Regions from separate parts of the Homo sapiens genome. Here region 1 is linked to region 2. The links are contacts of gene promoters, found by promoter capture Hi-C in human tissues and cell types (Jung and others, 2019). All regions are on one chromosome and are shown on one strand. The core of a region is centred on a gene start or on the middle of the fragment in contact, and the rest is flanking DNA. Distances in the headings are between cores, read along the strand shown.

Region 1 (3,476 bases), core at 649-3,148, 180 kb after region 2:
TGCCTGCACCACCATTGTATCTTGGAAGTAAATAACTTGATTTTGATTTAATAGGCTCACAGTTGTAAGGGACTTGCCTTGAGTCTCAGAGGAGGCTTTGAACTTTGATTTTTGAGTTAATGCTGAAATGAATTAAGACTTTTGGGAATATTGGCAAGAAATGATGGTATTTTGCATGTGAGAAGGACATGAGATTTGGGGTGCCAAGGGCAGAATGCTATAGTTTGGATGCTTATCTCTCCAAATCTCATGTTGAAATTTGTTCTCCAATGTTGGAGGTGAGGCCTAGTGGGAGGTAGTTGGGTCACAGAGGCAGATCCCTCATGAATGTCTTGGTGCTGTCCTCACAGTGCTGAGTGAGTTCTTGCTCTATTAACTCCCATGAGAGCTGGTTGTTAACAGAGCCTGACATCTCCCTGCTCTCTCTCTCTTTTTCTCTCTCTTGCTTCCTCTCTCACCATGTGATCTCTGCACACCTCAATTCTTCTTCCCTTTCCACCATGAGTGGAAGCATCCTGAGTTCCTCACCAGAAGCAGATACTGGGGCCACACTTCTTGTACAGCCTGCAAAACTGTGAGACAAGTAAACCCCTTTTCTTTATAAATTACCCAGCCTCAGGTATTCCTTTATAGCAACACAAATGGACTAAAACACTTAGCAACCAAGACTACTCCTCACTGGGGCTCTTTCAGGGTTCTACTCCTGCTTCACCAGGTCCCACTGGGTCTCCTTTAGGAGAAGCTTCTCCCAGCAGCTCCCATCCCACTAGGAGTCCAAAAAAATGGCCAAAGCTTTCAGTGGACTCAGGTCCTGCAGTATCATACACAAGGCCACTCAATGATCTCTCATCTGAATAGGCCCCAACACAACCAGCTCCCCCACCACCACCACAGGGGCCAAGCCTTCCCACTCTGCAAACTTCCTGCTCTTTCTGAGGAGGATGCTGATTAGACTCTGAGCTGTTTGAGTATGGAGTCTTATGATTTAGAAGGCAGTTTCTGCTTTATTCCACTGCGGCAGCCTCTGCCAATAATGGGACACTGTTGAGAGCTGACAGGCCTCTGACAAGCGCCATTGTTTTTTCATAGGAGTTCATGTGAAAATAGCTTCATATTCTAAGCTGACATATAGTCACTTTAGGTAACTAAACTAACTTGCTCTGTGAACAGTAACAGTCAGTGCTGGGCTTCTGTTCATTCCGTTGTTCCCTATTGTTCCATGGCAGGAAATGTTGTTCATGAAACCCATCTCTCTCCTTGGGCACACAACTGGATTATGTTTCCCAGCCTCCCGTGGTTAGGGTGGTCATGTAACTGGGCTCCAGCCTGGCCCATGAAACCTTCCTGTGTATGGGTCTCTGTGCTCTTTCCCCTTCTGCCAGATCATAAAAAAGAGCATGAAAATGATTTGCAGAAGATGGGGAAGCCACTAGATTAATGATCCTGGGATGCTGAATCACTACCTGAAGGAGAACCCTTCTCTGATCTGGAAACCAGTTATAAAGTAGGTTCATCATGTACTGGTTACCAACCAACTTGTCTGAGTCCAGCGAGACAGAACACACACATGTGCAACAAGTTACATAAAGCAGATTTATGACGTGCAGAAGGCAGCAAGGGACAAAAGAGCATAAGATTCACTGTGAGCCAGACCTTATATTAGTCCATCCTCACACTGCTATGAAGAACTACCTGAGACTGGGTAATATATAAAGAAAAGAGGTTTAATTGACTCAAATTTCTGCAGGCTGTAGAGGAGGCACAACCTGGGAGGCCTCAGGAGAGAGAGAGACAGTGAAGAGGCAAGTGCCACACACTTTTTTTTAACTTTAAGTTCCAGGATACAAGTGCAGAATGTGTAGGTTTGTTGCACAGGTATACATGTGTCATGGTGGTTTGTTGCATCTATCAACCCATTGTCTAGGTTTTAAGCCCCGCATGCATTAGCTATTTGTCCTAATGCTATCCCTCCCCTTGCCCCCAACCCCCCAACTGGCCCTGGTGTGTGTTATTCCTCTCCCTGTGTCCTTGTGTTCTCACTGTTCAACTCCCACTTATGAGTGGGAACATGTGGTGTTTGGTTTTCTGTTCCTGCAATAGTTTGCTGAGAATGATGGTTTCCAGCTTCGTCTATGTCCCTGCAAAGGAAATGAACTAATTCCTTTTTACTGCTGCATAGTATTCCATGGTGTATATGTACCACATTTTCTTTATCCAGTCTATCATTGATGGGCATTTGGGTTGATTCCATGTCTTTGCTATTGTAAATAGTGCTACAGTAAGCATATGCGTGCATGTGTCTTTATAGTAGAATGATTCATAGTCCTTTGGGTACCATTTGACCCAACAATCCCATTACTGGGTATATAGCCACACACTTTTAAACCATCAGAAGTCATGAGACCTCACTCACTATCACAAGAACAGCAAGGGGGAAATCCATCCCCATGAACCAATCACCTCCCACCAGGACCCTCCCCCAGGATTGAGAATTACAATTCAACATGAGATACGGGTGGGGACACAGAGCCAAACCATATCAGGCCTCCAAGGCTCAAGAAAGCTGTCCAGGGTGGATGGATTCTCAACTGTGCATGTCTCACTTGCATCACAGCTGAGGGACCCCCAAAAGGCAGCCTGCCCTGGGTTATAGAGCTCAGGGGCACATGACCCACTGGGCTAAAACCTTGAGGGGCATTCTACTTCCAGGGAAGAGAGAATCAAAGCCTTGGCTGCCCCAGGCATTTCCTCTCTAACTCAAGATGTTACATTTTCTAGGAGGAACAGGAACAAGGATCAGGCTGTTTTGGGCAGCCCATCTCAGGATGTTGTATTCTAGGCATATTCTACAGTTATTCTTAAGAACTGCAAGTATGAAAGGGGGAAGAACTGGGTCAGTCTGAGGCCACCCACAGAAATATCCTGCACCAATTTTGGACCTCAAAAGTCAGAAATAAACTTCCAAACTTCCAGCCAGATGCAGTGTCTCACACATGCAATCCCAGCACTTTTGCAGGCTGAGGCCAAAGGATTGCTTGAGGTCAGGAGTTCGAGATGAGCCTGGTCAACAGAGAAAGACCTCCAACTCTACCAAAATTAAAAAAAAAAAAAATAGCCCTGGCCAGGTGCAGTGGCTCATGCCTGTAATCCAAGCACTTTAGGAGCCCAAAACAGGTGGATCACTTGAGCCAGGTGTTGGAGATCAGTCTGGCCAACGTGGCAAAACCCTATCTTTACTAAAAATACAAAAATTAGCTGGGCATGGTGACTTGAGCCTGTAGTTCCTGCTACTTGGGAGGCTGAGGCACAAGAATCGCTTGAACCTGGGAGGCAGAGGTTGCAGTGAGCCGAGATCATGCCACTGCACTTCAGCCTGAGCAATAGAGTGAGACTCTATCCCAAAAATAAAAAATAAGTTATACAGGAATGGTGGTGTATACCTATAGTCCAAGCTACTCAGAAGGCTGAGGCAGGAG
Region 2 (3,373 bases), core at 480-2,979:
CAGGATGATAGCCAGGGTGGAGACCCCTTTCCGGGTGGTCACATAGTGCGACGTGGCCAGGAAGTGGTGCTGCAGGGCTATCTGATGGGCGTGCCTCATCACAATCTTACAGATCTGGATGTAGAGCTGAAGCATGAGCGCAAACATGAAGAGGAAGGACACCGAGAGGATGGCCGCGTTGTTCTTGGTGAGCGGTCTGACCACGCTGCAGGTGGACTCGTCTCGGAGGCAGTTCCAGCCCATGACGGGCAGCAGCCCCAGGCAGATGGAGGTCCCCCAGAGCATGACGAGCATGACATAGGTAAACGTGACCGTCCTCTCCGAATGGTACGTCAGAGCGTAGTACAGTGAGAGGTAGCGGTCAACAGTGATAGCCAGCAAGCTGCAGACAGAGGCAGAGAAAGAGGCGACAATGAGGCCGATCGTGACCAGCTTGGTGGCTTCTGACTGAAGCAGGTAGGCAAAAACAAAATTGGTGATGAGTCCAATGCCGGCCAGCAGGTCTGCAAGAGCCAGGCTGCCTATTAGCAGGAACATGGGTGCTCGCAGGCTGGGGTTGTGGAAGATGATAAGGACCACAATGGCATTTTCACAGGAGATGAGGGTTCCCGAGGTACACAAGACAATGTCCCAGGGGTTGACTACGAGCTCAGGCTCTGGCTCTACGGCAGGAACCCGGGAGGAGACAGCAGCCGAGATGTTCTCCGCAGCAGCGGCATCTAAATAATCCCGAGGCAGCCCGCTTAAATTGACCTTCAGGTCTTCATTCATTTTAACCCCTGTCCTCTTCAACGAAAAGACAGGCTTTTTAATGTTTAAATACAGCAGGGTGACAATCCAAGATCATGCAAAAAACACACAGACAAACAGAAAGCCAGCCCCTGCTCAGATACCAGTACCAAATGCCACAAGCTTCGGGAATGAGGAACTGTTGGGAAATGAAACAAAAGCCAAAGTCTCTGTGGTTTAAACCCCACAACAAAAATGCCGTTTGGCATTGGGGAAAACACAGGGTAGGACTTCAAAACACCAGCGTGAGCGAGGCAGGCACACACGGACTCGCGGCGGTCTGTTTGCAACAGCGCTGGGAATGCACATTGGAAAATCACATCTTGCATGCTGAAAACGAACAACTGTTTGACATCTGGGCTGCTGCCGAGAAAACCACGCGGCAGCGGCAGGTCTCGAGCCAGGGGCCGCCATCCTCGATGGAATATTTAAATCGCCTATTTCCATCGAACTCCCACCCTCCAAACGCATCCCCCGCGCGCGTGCACATCCTCAAACGCACCCCCGACCGGAACAAAGAGGGGCTCCAGACTCCCCCCGTGCGCACGGGGCAGTCGGGAGGGCCACGAGAGGGAGGTGTGTGCAATGGAAGTACCGAGACAGACAGACAGACAGATGCCCATGCACTGCTGCCGATTCCCTGGCGGCGGGGACGGGAGTCGGACGCGAGGGGGACAGACAGGGTGCGGGGACAGGCGGCCCGCGGGGGCGGGGGGGTCATCGAGGGGGTCACCTTGGCTCGCCCAGGCCGAGGGGGCTCCTCCGGTGCTTCCGAAGCGCGTGGGCTACTCGTGTCGCATGTCGGCGCAGTTGCCCGCTGTGGCAAGGGGGGGGCGGCCGGGCTCCGGAGCGGGCCGGGAGGGCGCGGGGCGCGCACTCCGCGGCAGGTGAGCGGCGCGGCTGCAGGTGAGCAGCAGCCTCGGCTCGCGCGCCCAGCTTTCCCCGCCGCGCCCGCCCGGCCCACACGCTCCCCGCGCGCGCGCCGCCCCCGCCCCGCGCGCGCCCGGCCGCCCGCCCGCCCGCGGGATCCCCGCGAGGCCGCGCGCCCCCACGGGTCAGGGCTGCTCTAGGGTGCGGGCAGGCGAGGGCGGCCCAGGGGCGCGGGGCGAGGGGCGAAGGAGCCAGGAGGCTGAGAACTGCATGGTAGCCCTGCCTGCCTGCCGCGCTGCGCGCCCCACCCCAGCCGGCGGCCCCGGGCTTGCACCGGGCGGGGCAGGGGAGCGCTGCCTGGAGCCCTGTGACCTATTTCGTTCCTGTGGTTTCCCTGGGGAGCTCCAAGTCTCTACAGTCCTGGCTTTTCCACGCCTTTACCTAAACCACTACATTCAGGGCCAAAAGAATTGCTTAGGATGATATTCACGATCAGCAGCAGGGATGCGGGGTGGACAGGTTAGGGAAGCAGATCTTTAAAACAACAAAATGCCCCGCACGCTCTTTTAGAATTGCCCATGGTCCTGGACCTGGTTCATTATCACTGTTCCCCAGGAACATTTGCTTGACTGGATAGATGCTGCTGCTCTGTGGATCATCATTATCATCACCAAATTGCACTTATTAAGCGCTCTTTGAGCTGTGTTTTCAAATGGAAATCATTTACTGAGTTCTTGTAGAAGCTTCCTGCAGACATTGGCCAAACCCCAATTCATTTAGATACTGAAGTGGCACTATTAATTTATTTTTTCATTTTGCCACATCAATGGATTCTAAGATGAAGAACCTGATAGCTGTCTGCTTTTATGATCCCATGCCTCCTCTGGATATAAAAACCAGAGCACCTCATAGATCTTAAGTTCCAAGATGATCCTCCAGTTTAAAGATGGGATAAGGAAAAAGTGTGATAGTCTTGTCTTGCCCTGTCAGAGGTGAAGGTTTTCCCACTGCTTTTCTTCCACTTGCCCAGGGGCTCTTGTATGAATGGAGATGGTCTGCAGGCAAGGGACCCTACAGGGGCATCATCAGCTGACCAGCCTGCCTTCCCCTGGTGCTCACGTCTTCTCTACCCCAGCCCAACAGATTCGGAGCCTCAATCACCCTTGACTTTCTTCCCGCTTCTCCTTCCCTTCTTCCATCAATCAGTTTCTGGCTCTGCAAGGTCACTCCAGCTCTCCCTGCATGCCACTTCTCATCATCCTCAGCTCCCTGGTTGAGGCCCTCATCCCCTCTCACCTGCATTTCTGGTACCCACCTGCCTCTCCCTTTCCCAACCTCCTCGATTTGGCACATCTATTCCATGATGTCCAAGACCTCCTGCTACCTCCAGAATAGTCTGAACTTTTTACCTTGACAGATTCTGCTCAGTAGTTCTTGGGGTGGGCCTACCTTCTGCATTTGCAAGCCTCTTCCCCAGTGATGCTGCTGCTGCTGCTGGTTGACAGATCACACTTTGAGAAGCAAGGTTCTATGGAGTTTTCAGAGTGGCTTGTTCATGGTGGGGAGGCATCAGACTCGTGTGTGTCCCAAGAACCGGGCTAAGGGCTGGGCATAGAAATTCAGTAAGACACGGTCTCCAGTCTGGTAGTGACACACACACAAATCAACAATAATGCCAGGCAGCAAATGCTGTCATGAAGGGATGTAATCTTCT

What was found. The method cuts DNA at HindIII sites, captures the fragments that hold promoters and counts their contacts. A contact is called where the count stands out against the background at its distance.
Region 1: a fragment that was not itself captured here is called in contact with the fragment with the promoter of GPR12 in region 2 in 1 of the 25 tissues and cell types used here (H1 embryonic stem cells).

The regions. Positions count from the first base shown.
Region 1 is chr13:26,936,605-26,940,080 of GRCh38, forward strand. No RefSeq gene overlaps it. Among named protein-coding and RNA genes, the nearest start is that of GPR12, 180 kb to the left of the region's middle. The HindIII fragment of the contact is 4,444 bases long and covers 1-3,476 here.
Region 2 is chr13:26,759,057-26,762,429 of GRCh38, forward strand. It overlaps GPR12 (G protein-coupled receptor 12), which reads right to left and starts at 1,730. Exons shown (of 2, transcript NM_005288.4): 1 at 1,523-1,730; 2 at 1-786. The coding sequence starts at 771. The HindIII fragment of the contact is 6,005 bases long and covers 1-3,373 here.